Linked DNA regions of Homo sapiens: region 1 is linked to region 2. Evidence: promoter capture Hi-C in 16 types of primary human blood cells and fetal thymus (Javierre and others, 2016). All regions are on one chromosome and are shown on one strand. The core of a region is centred on a gene start or on the middle of the fragment in contact, and the rest is flanking DNA. Distances in the headings are between cores, read along the strand shown. Region 1 overlaps KIAA1328. Region 2 holds the start of ZNF397 (zinc finger protein 397).

Region 1 (6,850 bases), core at 3,565-6,064, 1.6 Mb before region 2:
TTTATATAAAGTTCCAAATATATATGAAATACTGTTTCAAAAAAAATGTATTTACACTGTAGGACAGGGCTTGGTAAACCATGGCTGCAAGCCGAATCTGGCCCACTGGCTGTTTTTGTAAACAAAGGTTTATTAAAACGTGCTCATTCATTTGCATATTGCTTATGGCTCTTTTAATGCTACTGTGGCAGAGTTGAGTTGTTGAGACAGATGTTACAGCCTGCAAAAGTTAAAGTATTTACTACCTGTCCAATTTATAGAAAAAGTCGGCGAACCCCGATATGGAAAAACAAAAGAATTATAAAGTTCAGGATACGAATTACCAAAGAAGAAAACATGATGAGGAAAGGCCACATATCTACAGTCACTTGACTTACAACAATGGTATCATTGCAATTCAAAGAAGAAAAGAATCCTCTTCCCAGTAGATGGTGTTGGGCCAATACTGACAGTCTATTGACCCAATACTGGCAGTCTATGGGCCCAACACCATCTATTGGGAAGAGGATTCTTTTCTCTCTGAATTGCAGTGAATCTTACTTTACACTACATGTGCATATTACTTCCTGATGAATAGTAGGCTTAACTGTAAAAAATAAAGCAATATGGCCACAAAAGAGAGAGGGAACTTGCTGCAGAGTATAATCAGCTAACAGCCTCCAGTTGCCAAACCTTTGGGATCCACTGCACTGTTCATACCAACACCAATGACTGGGAACAGTAGAGACACTAGAACTGAGCTATTTCTGATCCAAATGGCATCCTCAAAAGGCAGTATTTGCTCTGGGGTTCCTCACTAGCAAAAAGGACACTTATCTCAGATTGCATGGCAATCTGAAGTCTGAGGTTCTTCCTAGTCAATCTTCCTTCTTTTCCTCTCCTGTCACAGGTGCCAGACTGTAGTGAAATCTGAAGATTCCTGCTCATTCTACTCTTTATGCTTTATAAGCTTTTCCTTCATTAAATCTCTTCCATTTCTAATTCCATCTCGCGGTCTGCTTCCCAGAAGACTTGAACTGACCTAATTACCACTGTGAAATCCTTAATGAATTAAGGATACTCAACATCAATACCAACAAAGACTACACAGAGAAAAAAATCACAAGATGGCTGGGCACAGTGGCTCATGCCTATAATCCCAGCACTTTCGGAGGCCGAGGTGGGTGGATCACGAGGTCAGGAGTTCAAGACCAGCCTGGTCAACATAGTGAAACCCCATCTCTGTTTATACAAAAATCATCTGGGCATGGTAGTGCGTTCCTGTAATCCCAGCTAGTTGAGAGGCTGAGGCATGAGAATTTCTTGAACCAGAACCCAGGAGGCAGAGGTTGCAGTGAGCCGAGACCATGCCACTGTACCTGGGCTACAGAGCCAGACTCTGTCAAAAAAAAAAAAAAAAATCACAAGACATGCTCTTCAATGGAAAAAAGGAAAAGAAAAAGCAAACCACCATTTCTAGTTTTAAGAAAAAGCACACATAGACACATATACCCCCGACAATGTAGGACATCCTCTTCTAGCCCAGATGGAGTAACAGGGACCAGATTTACCCTAGTTTCAGAAAACAAAACAAAACAAAAACCTGACAAAAAAACAGGAAACAATAGTTTTCATTGGATAGCAGGCAACACAGAATGATCACTGGAATTGCAGAAACAAACAAGGCGAGCCCTACAACTGTCCCAGCTAACTGCTGTGGAGAGTTTTCAGGGCTAAGGTAGGTAAATCCAGACAGAGCCCAGCAATCTCCCTGAGTTGAAAAGATACAGCTGGGAGTCCAGGAAAGCCAAGGTTTCTAGTGTTTGCAGAAACACTAGAAACCTTGCAGGGCAAAGTAATGCCAAGGATAGAGCTGCATAGGAGAGCTCCAGGGATCTGCAGAATCCCTTCGCGTCAACTACTGAGCACTGACCAGCATATGTATGTGAGAAAACTACTCATCCCGGGGAAAGAGCCCAAAATGAACAGTGGAAACAATTTCTGTAGCTAATACAGCATAGGAGAACAGTCTGTTCCCACCAGCCAGAGGGGAAAACCTTGTAATTTAAGGGGCATCAGGAAGAGTATTCAAAAGAGTATGGCCTACAATGGGCAAAATTACCCCTATACTAAAAGCTGCTCTGGCACCACCTTTAAAAGCTCAAAATGAAGCTTGGAAAGAATCAAATTGCTTCCAAATAATTTATCACTGTCTCAGAACCCAAAAAGGCAAAATGCATACTGTCTTGTGACATCCAATAAAAGACAACCAAGCAGGCAAAGAAGCAGAAAAATACAGCCTATAATTAGGAGAAAAATTGCTCAATTGAAACCTATCCACAAATGACTTGGATGATAGAATTCATAGTCAAGAATATTGAAACAGTTATTATAACTATGTTCCATATGTTCAAGAACCTAGAAGAAAGCATGTCAAGTAGCGACATGGAAGATGTAAACAAAAATAAGAGACTGAAACTGAACTTCTAAAGATAAAACTACATTGTTTCATATGAAAAACACACTGGATGAGATTAGTGGCAGATTAGACATTGCAGAAGGTTAATGAATTTGAAGACATAGCAACAGCAATACAAACTATCCAAGGATAAACAAAAAAATTTTTTAATGAAAAAAATATGAACAGAGGATCAGAGAGCTGAGAGGGTAACTTCAAGAGGCCTAGTATTTGTGCAACTAAGGTCACTAGAAAGAGAGGGAAACAAAAATATCTGGAGAAACAATGGCTGAAACATTTCCCAATTTGATGAAAACTATAAACCCACAGTCCCAAAAAGCTCAACAAACCTCAAACAAAAGAGATACTTTAAAAATTACTCCAAGGTAGGATGGGCATGGTGGCTCACACCTGTAATCCCAGCACTTTGGGAGGCCGAGGCGGGCAGATAATGAGGTCAGGAGTTCGAGACCAGCCTGACCAACATGGTGAAACCCCATCTCTACTAAAAATACAAAAATTAGCCGGGTGTGGCGGTGCACGCCCGTAATCCCAGCTACTCAGGAGGCTGAGGTAGGAGAATCACTTGAACCTGGGAAGCGGAGGTTGCAGTAAACCAAGATCGTGCCACTGCACTCTAGCCTGGGCGACACAGCAACTCTGCACCTCAAAAAAAAAAATTACTCCAGGGTATACTATAACCAAATTGCTCAAAACCAGTGATAAGAAGAAAATCTTAAAAGCAGCCATATTTAAACACATACACACAGAAAAATAAGGAGGAATAAAAATGACAGCCAACTTCTTAAAAACAATACAAGCCAGGCAACAGTGCAGCAACATCTTTAAAGCACTGAATGAATAAAACTATCAACTCAGAATTTTATAACCAGCAAAAATATCTTTTGAAAAGGAAAGAGAAATAAAGACTTTTCAGACATACGTGAGCTGAAAAAATTCTTTCCTAGCATACCTGAACTAATGTTAAAGGAAGTCTTTTAGGAAATCTGGATACACGTGAAAGAATGAAAACACCAGAAATGGTAACTACATGAGTAGATTTAAAAGACTTCTGTTGCATTTGTAAAATTTCTTTAAAAGGCAATTAAAATAAAATGCATCCAAAATGGAATAAAGGCATCCAATAAGAATATGTGAACTATCTCTATTCACAGACAACTTCATCTTATATAGAGAAAATGGTAAGGAATTCACAAAAGAACTATTAGATTAGAAATAGTTTGATAAAGTTGCAGGATACAAGATCAATTCACAAATCAACTGAATTTCTATATACTAGCAATAAACAATCCAACAGTGAAATTCAGAAACAACTGTGTTTCTAATAACATCAAAAAGTATAAAACATTTGCTGATTCTATAATGCCTATGGAAACACTGGGACCCAAAATAGCCAAAACAATCTTGAAAAAGAAGAAGTTGGAGGACTTATACTTCCTAATTCCAAAAATAAAAATATAAATCAATGGAACAGAATACAGAGAGTCCAAAAATAAACCCTTACACTTATGGTCAACAGATATTTGACAAGGGTGCCAAGAAATTCAAAGGGGAAAGGACAGTTTTTTTAACAAATGGTGCTGGGACAACTGGATATCTACATGCAAAGGAATAAAGTTAAACTACCACCTCACCCCATATACAAAAATTAACTCAAAATGGAATGAGAACTAAATGTAGGAGTAAAACCTTTAAAATTCTTAGAAAAAAAATAGGCACAAATATTTGTGACCTTGGATTAGGCAACAATTTCTCAGATATGACACCAAAGCAAAGGAGACAGAAGAAAACACTAGATAAACTGAACTTCATCAAAATTTTAAACTTCTGTGCTTCAAAGAACACCAATAAAAAAGTGAAAAGGCAATGCATAGAATGAGAAAAAATATTAGCAAATAATGTATCTGATAAGGGACTTGTAAATGGAATTTAGAAAGAACTCATAACTTAACAGTACTAAGACAAATAACTCAGTTAAAAAAGGATATGACTAGATATTTGTCTGACGAAGATACACAAATAGCCAAGAAGCACATAAAAACATGCTCATCATCATTTAGTCATTAAGGAAATGCAAATCAAAATCACATTGAATTACCACTTCACACCCACTAGGGTGGCCATCCTCAAAAAAGATGGACATAAATGTTGGCAAGAATGTGGAGAAATCTGAATCCTCATACATTGCTAGTCGAATGTAACATGGTGTAACCACTTTAAAAAACAGTTTGGAATTTTGTCAAAAGGTTAAACATAAAACTACACGACACAGCAATTCACTTATAGGTATATACACAAGAGAACTGAAAATATATGTCTACACAAAAACTTGTATATGAATGATCATGGAAGAATTATTCATAATAGCTAGAAAGTTGAACATGTCCATTGACTGATAAATGGATAAACAAAATGTATATTCAGACATAAAAAGGAATGAAGTAATGATACAGAATAGATGAACCTTGAAATCATTATGCTAAATCAAAGAAGCCAGTCACAAAAGGCCACATATTATGTGATTTCCTTTTATATGCAACATCAATAACAAGCAAATCTATAGAGACTGAAAGCAGATTAGTGTTTGCTAGGGGCTGAGATGACTGGGGAATGAGAAGTGCCTAATTGGTATGGGGTTTCTTTCTAGAGTGATAAAAATGTTTCGAAACTAGATTGTGGTGATGGATCCACAACTCTGTGAATATAAACACATACAAAATCAAAATAATAAACTGTACACTTTAAAAAGGTGAATTTTATATGCAAATTATATCTCAATTTGAAAAAAAAGAGAGTTGACTAAAGCAAATGTAATATGTATTTTGGGGTCTGTGCACATAAGTAAAATGTATGACAACAATATCAAAAAAGTCAGGAGGTGAGAAATAAAGTACAGTGTTGAAAGGTCCTTAAACTATAGGTAATGTGGGAAAATATCACTTGATAATAGGCTATGATAAATGAAAGATGTATACTATAATCTCTAAAGAAGCCACTGAAATAATCCAATCAAAAGTTATAGCCAATAGGACAAAAATATGAACTTAATCTAAAAGAAGGCTATTGTTCAATGTAAAACAAATCAACCATTATGTGAAAAAACATTTTTTAACTTTTTTTGATAAGAACTTGCAAATTCAACTATTCACACCCCAGTGTGAAGTGGGTACACTGGTACAAGTAACGTAAAGTAGGCCTTTTGATTCAATCACAGTAAAATCCTGTAGTAATAAATGAGGCACTGGAAATATCTTTGAGAACATAATTCACAGACTGAAAAAAGTTTTCTATAAAAGGTCTGATAGTAAATGTTTTTAGCTTGTGGGCATGCAGTCTCTGTAGCAACCCTGCTATTGTAACACAAAAGCAACCATAGACAATTATGTAAAACAATGAGCACAGCTGTATTCCAAAAAACCTTTATTTATAAAACAGGCAGAAGGATTTGGTCCACAGGTTATAGATTCCAGAACATTCATATACAAGTTTTGTGTAGACATCCTAGTGAGTGTGAAGTGGTATTGAACAACTCTGGTTGCAGAGGGAAAATATAACAAAAATTAAAGTAAAATAAACTGGTCAGATAGGACATGTGCCAAAGGAATGCACCGATACTATTACTATGCCTAGTCATTGATTTGTCCCTCATCTTTACGAGGGTTCATCTATCAAATAAATTCACAAGAATAAAAATCAAAAAGGATGCCTAATTAAAAAGCAATTCTCATCAGTTTGATTTACCAATGCCACACAGATCAGAATGTAGTTCTTTTGAGACATATCAAGATAATACATTATCATGGCTAATGCTTACAGCAAGTCAGATGTTTTGGAGCAAAACCCTTGAGTAATCCAGATAATTTAGGCTCAAACCTGGCATCATCAAAGGATCCTGGAATCCTCTGTATCTTTTAAGAATGTTTGTTGATCACCTAGTATACTTTCAAAGGTTCTTCTACCCTTTTTGGTCAGCACTCATAAAGACTGGAGAGCAAGGAAAAAAAAAGACGAAAAAAATACTAACCTGTTCATCTACTGAATCTCCTGTGCCTTTTAAGGACTCCATGGAGATTGAAGCATCAGTCACCCTGGAAGTCTTAAGTTTAACATCAGCTTTTGGACTCATCAGCTTGTGTCTTGATCTGACATTTCCTTCAGCAGAAATTCCTAAGGATTTCCATTAAACAAGATTTCAAAATTATACCTTATTATCTTAAACCCTCCCCCATCAACTCCTTCCTTGGAATCCTCTACTTTAAGGGACCTGATGGAGGAAACTCTCTTACTTTATAAACTTAATTTTAAAGCTCTTAATATATGAATCATAAAAAGAATATGTTTTAAAGAAATACACTAAAGATTGAATTGAAATTTGTTTTTATATTTATTTTT
Region 2 (6,623 bases), core at 3,927-6,426:
TTCTCTGATGCTGAACAAGGGCTGAGCTCCTTTTGAAAGTTTTGCCACATTCATTACACTGATAAGGTTCCTCCCCACTATGAATTCTCTGATGTCTGATAAGGTTTGAGCTCAAACTGAAAGCTTTTCCACATTCACTACATTCATAGGGTTTCTCTCCACTATGTATTCTCTGATGAGTAATCAGCTCTGAGCTCTGCCTGAAAGCTTTTCCACATTCATTACATTCATAGGGTCTCTCTCCTGTGTGAATTCGCTGATGTCTAATGAGTTTTGAGCTCTGGCTAAAGGTTTTCCCACATTCATTACACTCATAAGGTTTCTCACCAGTGTGAATTCTTTGATGTATAATGAGATATGAACTTTGACTGAATGCTTTGCCACACTCATTACATTTACAAGCTTTCTCACCAGTATGGATTTTCCGATGTCTAATGAGGGCTGAGCTCTGATTGAAAGCTTTCCCACATTCACTACATTCATATGCTTTCTCACCACTATGAATTCTCTGATGAATAATAAGATAGGACCTCAAACTAAAGGCCTTCCCACACTGGTTACATTTATAGGGCTTTTCTCCAGTATGGATTCTCTGATGTTGTGTTAGAGAGGAATGCTGCTTGAAGCTGTGCCCACATACATCACATCTATAAGGTCTCTCTTCTGGAGGAACTTTCTGACACATTATAGAGTCTGTAGTTAGAATCAAGCATCTTTCAGCCTCATCATAAAGGTCTCTCTTTCCTAGAGATTTGTTTGTGAAGATCACTTGACTAAAACTGCCCCCTTGGGAAGGAGATCTTAGTTTCTCCCCTGTAGCACTTCCTTGCTTCCACACTAAATTGCTTTCATGCTCACTAATTCCTCGAAATGAAGGTTCCTGAGGGAGTCCCTGTGATTTTTCTTCTGAGATGCCCTCTTTTGTTGCTGTTTCACTGTTCTCACAATCTGAAACAATAAGTAGCAAAAAAACAGATATTACATTTCTCTTGTCACCGTCAAAACTTTCTACATGAGAGAAAACAGAAGCTTCTACCTACAAAGATGTCACTGTCCTCCAGTATCTTTTTTTTCAACTGGCCAAAAGAGGGTCTCTCTTATCTAATAATAAAGTCTACATCTACACTTCGAATTCCATCCTTTCCTGCCTCTTTTGAGACATCAACTGATAAATTACCTACAATTTTTTTCTACTATTTACAATCTCTTTCTCAACTGATTCCTGTTCATCAGCTTTTAAATAAGCTTAAGTGTCTCTCACCTTTTAAAATCAACCTTCTTGCCTACATATCTCCCTCAAGCAACCTCACTCTCTCTCAAGTGGTTTCGCAACCTCACTCTCTCATAGTGATTTCTTGAAAGAGTTGTCTGCAGCCTTTCAAGTGAAAGTATCCTCATTCCACAATCTGGTTTCTGCCTTACTGTCCTCCCCCGCCCCCCACCGCCCCGTCCCCTACTTCCACTGATACTACTCTCATCAAGATCACTTCATAGCTCTTTAATCCACTAAGTACTTTCTAGATTATTACTTAGCCTCTCTGTAGCATTGACACTGAGGATCACACCTTCCTTCTAGAGACATTCTCTTCCAGTGATATTAGCCTGATTTCTGTGGCTGTTCCTTCTTAGATTCTAGGGTAAATCACTCAAACACGAGCGTTCCTCCAGATTCTGTTTTGGGCTCTCATGTATCCTTACTCTACAAACTCTCTACCCTTGGCTTCCATTACATCTTACATTGTAAGCTATTGTCTGACTAATGTCTGCCCAGATCCCCAATTATATCCATATTTTATTAAGCTCTAGAGTCTTATGCTAATTGGGCATTTTACTTTTGAATATTTCACAAGCACCAAATGTACCAACCTAAACACATCATCAGATGTATCTGTTTTTCCTTATGTTTTCTCATTCACATGAACAGTACTACCATTAACCAGACTGTTGAAGACTGAAACCTCAGTATCATCCTCAACTCCTCTCCCTCACACTCTAGTTTTAATAATTACCAGATGTTGCAAAACAACTTAAATGCTGTTGAACAGGAGTCAGCTTTTATGTTCTCCACCGCTTACCATAACACATATTGATTGAATACACTGTGGCCACTTGGATTACAGCAGTCTTTAATAGGACTATACTCTTGCCTTCCTTACATGATTCTCCATTTGCAGCTAACTTCTAAACTGCAAATCAAACTATGTCACTCCTTGTCCAAAATCCTTCAACTGCATCCCACTGCACTTAAGAAACTATACAAACAAATTAACATGACATACAGGTCTTCATGACTTGGATCCTATTTTCCTCTCTGGTTCTTCTCTTACCACCTGTCAATTCTCCATTCAAGTCAAATTAAACTACCTGCAATTTTCAGAATGGGTTATATTCTCACACCTTCGGGATGGTATGGCCTTTACTTGGGCTACTCCTCCTCCCACCTATTTACCTGGCTTTCTCTTACTCATAGTTCAAGTCTTAGCTTAGATTTTCTTCCTTCAGGAAGTGTTCCTTGATCCTCTAAGATTGGGTTAGGTGCCTTTAGATGTGCTCCAACAGTACCCACTGCCTACTTATATTCTATAATTTACTACATTGCAACTGCCTTTTTATTTGTCCATCACCCACCTAGACCTGAAACCTCTCCTGGGGCCTACCACAGTACCAGACATGTATTGACGCTTTATAAAGTTACAACATAATGAAATGAATGAATGAATAACAGGGAAACTCACACAGGAGGGCTGACAGCAATTCATGAGGGGTGAATACAAAGCCGCTAAAGCGAGCACCTCTGGTTTAGAATAATAAAGGTGATGCTCACATGTGGCAAGTTTGTCAAGTGCAATTAATTCTGCATTCTCAAAAACAGAGGCCTAAGTGTCAAGAGTTTCCAGATGATTTCCCATTCCTCACCACTTTTAGGGGAAAGGCATGGTTTCCAGGATTTCAGCTGTGTCTTTAAGGGCTGGAGGTGGATGTCTGTTGACTCTTGGGATGCTCTGAGACATGTTAAATCCTTCCATGGCACTGCTGGTCCCTGTGGACTAGCTGGGACCTGAAATCAGTAAAATATGGTTAGCTTTGTGAGAAAATCCCTAAGAAAACTTGCTTAGTAAAAATCTCAAAGAGGTCAATGATGACATCTCCAGGGATGAAGGACAGGGGAAAAAGACCATTCAAGGGTATAGACAAGTATGGCTCTATTAGTCACTTCAGGTTAGGGTTCAGTAGAGACATAAAAATTTTTATCCTACTGTTATGATACCATTACATGCTCCAGGCTGTAAATTCCTTTTCCCACATCACTTTTCTCCGTTCCCACCTGCTGCCCTGGGTCATCAAACTCCCTCTCTAAATCCTCCAACAGGGTCACAGCTTCCTCGCCGCTTTCTGGATTATGTTGCTGAACCCAGATCTGCAGCTCCTCAGGCAGAATGCTCAGGAACTGCTCCAGTACCAGCAGTTCTAAGATCTGCTCCTTTGTGTGCAACTCTGGCATTAGCCACTGATAGCAAAGTTCCTGGAGTCGGCTCAGAGCCTCCCGGGGCCCAGGTGTCTCCTGGTAGCAAAATTTTCTGAATTGCTGACGAAACAATTCTTGGCAGGATTGAGTACTCCCATTCTGCTTAAATTTCTCATCCCAGGAAAAGTTATCTTCTACTTTCACTAGTATTAGTTCTTGTTCCGGAGGATCCTGAGGTATCAGGGTTGAAATCACTCCAGATTCCACAGCCATTCTTGGCTGAAACAGCTTAGCAAAAAGCTCAGTACAACTGGTTCTGTGCTTGCGAAGGAGTGTGAGTAATCTCTTCTTTCCTGAAGGATATAAAAGCAGTTAACTTACAGCAATCAATAAAATCTCTAAGTACTTGTAATAAGAAAGATGAGTAACTTTAGTAATATATTGAAAGGGAGTAGATTTGGGGCTATCACTAAATAAAACAATAATGTGATGATAAACTAAAAATCATTAACCTCAATTAGTGTCTCCCATTATGAAGAATTCCTACCACTAATGTTAGAAAAAACTATTTTAGAAGCCTAAGAATGTGAATGCAACATTAACATCAATCACATAGTGAGAAAATTTCCTTTCCAATTCTTTCAATTCTGATTGTATCAAGGAGAAAAGTCTATCTTTAACATGTATGTATTAATAAAACTTGTAGAACTCTCTTTTAAATAAAATACAGGCTTCAGAATCAGACTTCCAAGAGTAAAAATATTTAGGCAGAATTTAGTAATACTGATTTTAAACATTTATTTTTACTTACTTTCTATCTAAAGCAAGTAATGTTGATTTTCATTTAAGGCAGTAATAACGTTTTTTTAAAAGTTCACATTAAACATGAGTTGATGTAAATATTGGATATTTGTCATTTGATCGCATTTGGTGTTTACCGAATTACTTCAACAAACACTGAGGCACTTACTGAGCATTAAGATTTTTGCTTATGAATAAACGAGTCTACAGAGGAATTGACCAAGAACCAAGACGTATCTGTAAAATGCTTACCATGTGTTCAAAAACATGATAGGTATCACATACACAAAAGCAGCAAAGAGATCCGTATCAGTTCTGAAAAAGCTTAGAATATCCCAAGACTAAAAATGTTCAAAAGCAAAATATGGTAACAAATAGGTATTAAATGTTGTGACACAGACCAAACTTGACCTGCTTTTAGGATGGCGAGATATCGATAGGAATGTATGCCCTTAGTTTGTCAGGACAGATGAGTAAAATTCATTCCTCACACTACGGTTAACGTTAAGAGATGAATTAAAATATTTAGCCTACAAATTTAAGGTTTAACCAGTCCGGCCGCACTAACTAACTAACTAACTAGCCCTTCTATTTTTATATCCTTGGTTAAACCGCAGCATTTACGAAGTCACGGGGTCAGCGGAACTGCGTTTTCCTTTGGAAAGCAGGAGTTTGAGTGCTGGCCTCCTCTGAGTTCCCCAGTCGCTTGGAGACGCCGCGCGGGCCAAAGGGCCGCGACCTGGGGATGGGCAGGCCGAGGAGCGGAGCTCCTCCACTGTCCGGCGCGCGCTCCCAACCCCACCTCCCTCTTCCTAGGGGCCCACGTCCCTCACCGCGAAGCCCAGGAGCGGCCAGGAAATGAGCCACCCACCCCGAGCTGCAAGCCACAAAGACCGGAAGTGCGCGTACGCAGTGTTCCGCTCTCGCGCCCTTCGGGTCCTCCGCCGCCCCGCCCCTTGCTCTGAGGTAGCCAATCAGAGCCGCGGGCTCTACAGTTTCCACCGCCTTCTCCCGGTAGCCGCTAGCCCGGCGGAATCTCCAAGGCCAGGGGAGGGTGCGCTAGGAGTCAGGGGTCCTTGTGAGCGGCGGCACCTGGAGGGTCCCGCATCTCGCCTGGGCCGTTCCCACCCTGGCTTTCTCCTGGCACCACCCATCATTGTTGGTCTCAAGTAATTCCCGAATCTCACTCCCAGTTTTCCATTAAAATATTCAGATTTTCGGCCGGGCGCGGTGGCCGAGGCGGGCGGATCACGAGGTCAGGAGATAGAGACCATCCTGGCTAACACGGTGAAACCCCGTCTCTACTAAAAATACAAAAATTTAGCTGGGCATGTTGGCGGGCGCCTGTAGTTCCAGCTACTCGGGAGGCTGAGGCAGGAGAATGGCGTGAACCCGGGAGGCGGAGCTTGCAGTGAACTGAGATGTGCTGCACTCCAGCCTGGGCGACAGAGCGAGACTCTGTCTCAAAAAAAAAAAAAAAAAAAAAACCTCAGATTTTCCTGTGATTCCAGTTCTTTTCCGACAAAAGTAAATGTAAGGATGAATAGGCTGAACAAAAACTAACAGTCACTTATATTGCTTTTGCCTATGAGTATCACTGGAGCCTTACAACAGTTCTGTGCTGTGGCTATATAATCCCAAATTTACAGCCGTAGACATCGCCCAAAGTCAGGCAACTTGTGACCAGGGACGTCCACGTCCCCATAGTTCAAGGAGACTGGTATCGTAGACTCCTGGAGCCTATCTTAGGGTCTTCCCGTTCTTCAGTGGAAGCTTGCTGGTATTGTCTCACTGTTTAAATTTTTCTTTGGCTATTTAGTCGGTGAAAAATGATGCCTCATGTTTCAACTTTGTGAGCTTAAGATAGTCCCCCTTCATGTTTACTGACCATTTATGGTTCTTCAGAGATGGCTTTTCCCATTTAAAAAATTAAGGGAGTAAGATTTTTCTTTTTTATTTGTGAGAATTTTTTGCTTATTAAGGATAGCAACTCGTTTGTTGCAAATCGTTTCCCATTTATTTGTATTTATTTTTAAAACGTTACATTTTACATGTTTAAATGTTACATATTTTTAAAATGTTATATTAAAAAAGTACACAGGATAATAACAAAGCGATACATACATACATAGAAACAAATTCTCCTTTGTGAGCCAAGACTTAAAACACATATTTGAGAAAAATGTTCGTTAGCATTCAAAGCTATTAGTGACTCACTAAATAATTTTATCATTGTGAAATGACTACAGCAATTTTACAAAGCAAAAAACCAAATAATATTAATTTGTTTATAAATTATCAATTGCTTCATAATGAACCACTTCAAGACTTAGTGACTAAAAACAGCAGATGTTTT

What was found. The method cuts DNA at HindIII sites, captures the fragments that hold promoters and counts their contacts. A CHiCAGO score of 5 or more calls a contact.
Region 1: a fragment that was not itself captured here is called in contact with the fragment with the promoter of ZNF397 in region 2 in 3 of 17 cell types (naive CD8 T cells, activated CD4 T cells and total CD4 T cells); the score reaches 6.8 in naive CD8 T cells.

The regions. Positions count from the first base shown.
Region 1 is chr18:36,835,009-36,841,858 of GRCh38, reverse strand. It overlaps KIAA1328, which reads right to left. Exons shown (of 10, transcript NM_020776.3): 3 at 6,483-6,625. Among named protein-coding and RNA genes, the nearest start is that of KIAA1328, 9.3 kb to the right of the region's middle. The HindIII fragment of the contact is 5,322 bases long and covers 2,154-6,850 here.
Region 2 is chr18:35,239,587-35,246,209 of GRCh38, reverse strand. It overlaps ZNF397 (zinc finger protein 397), which reads right to left and starts at 5,176. Exons shown (of 4, transcript NM_001135178.3): 1 at 5,101-5,176; 2 at 3,326-3,819; 3 at 2,917-3,058; 4 at 1-948. The coding sequence starts at 3,739. RefSeq lists a silencer at 4,995-5,124 and enhancers at 4,914-5,439, 5,385-5,494. The HindIII fragment of the contact is 1,449 bases long and covers 4,594-6,042 here.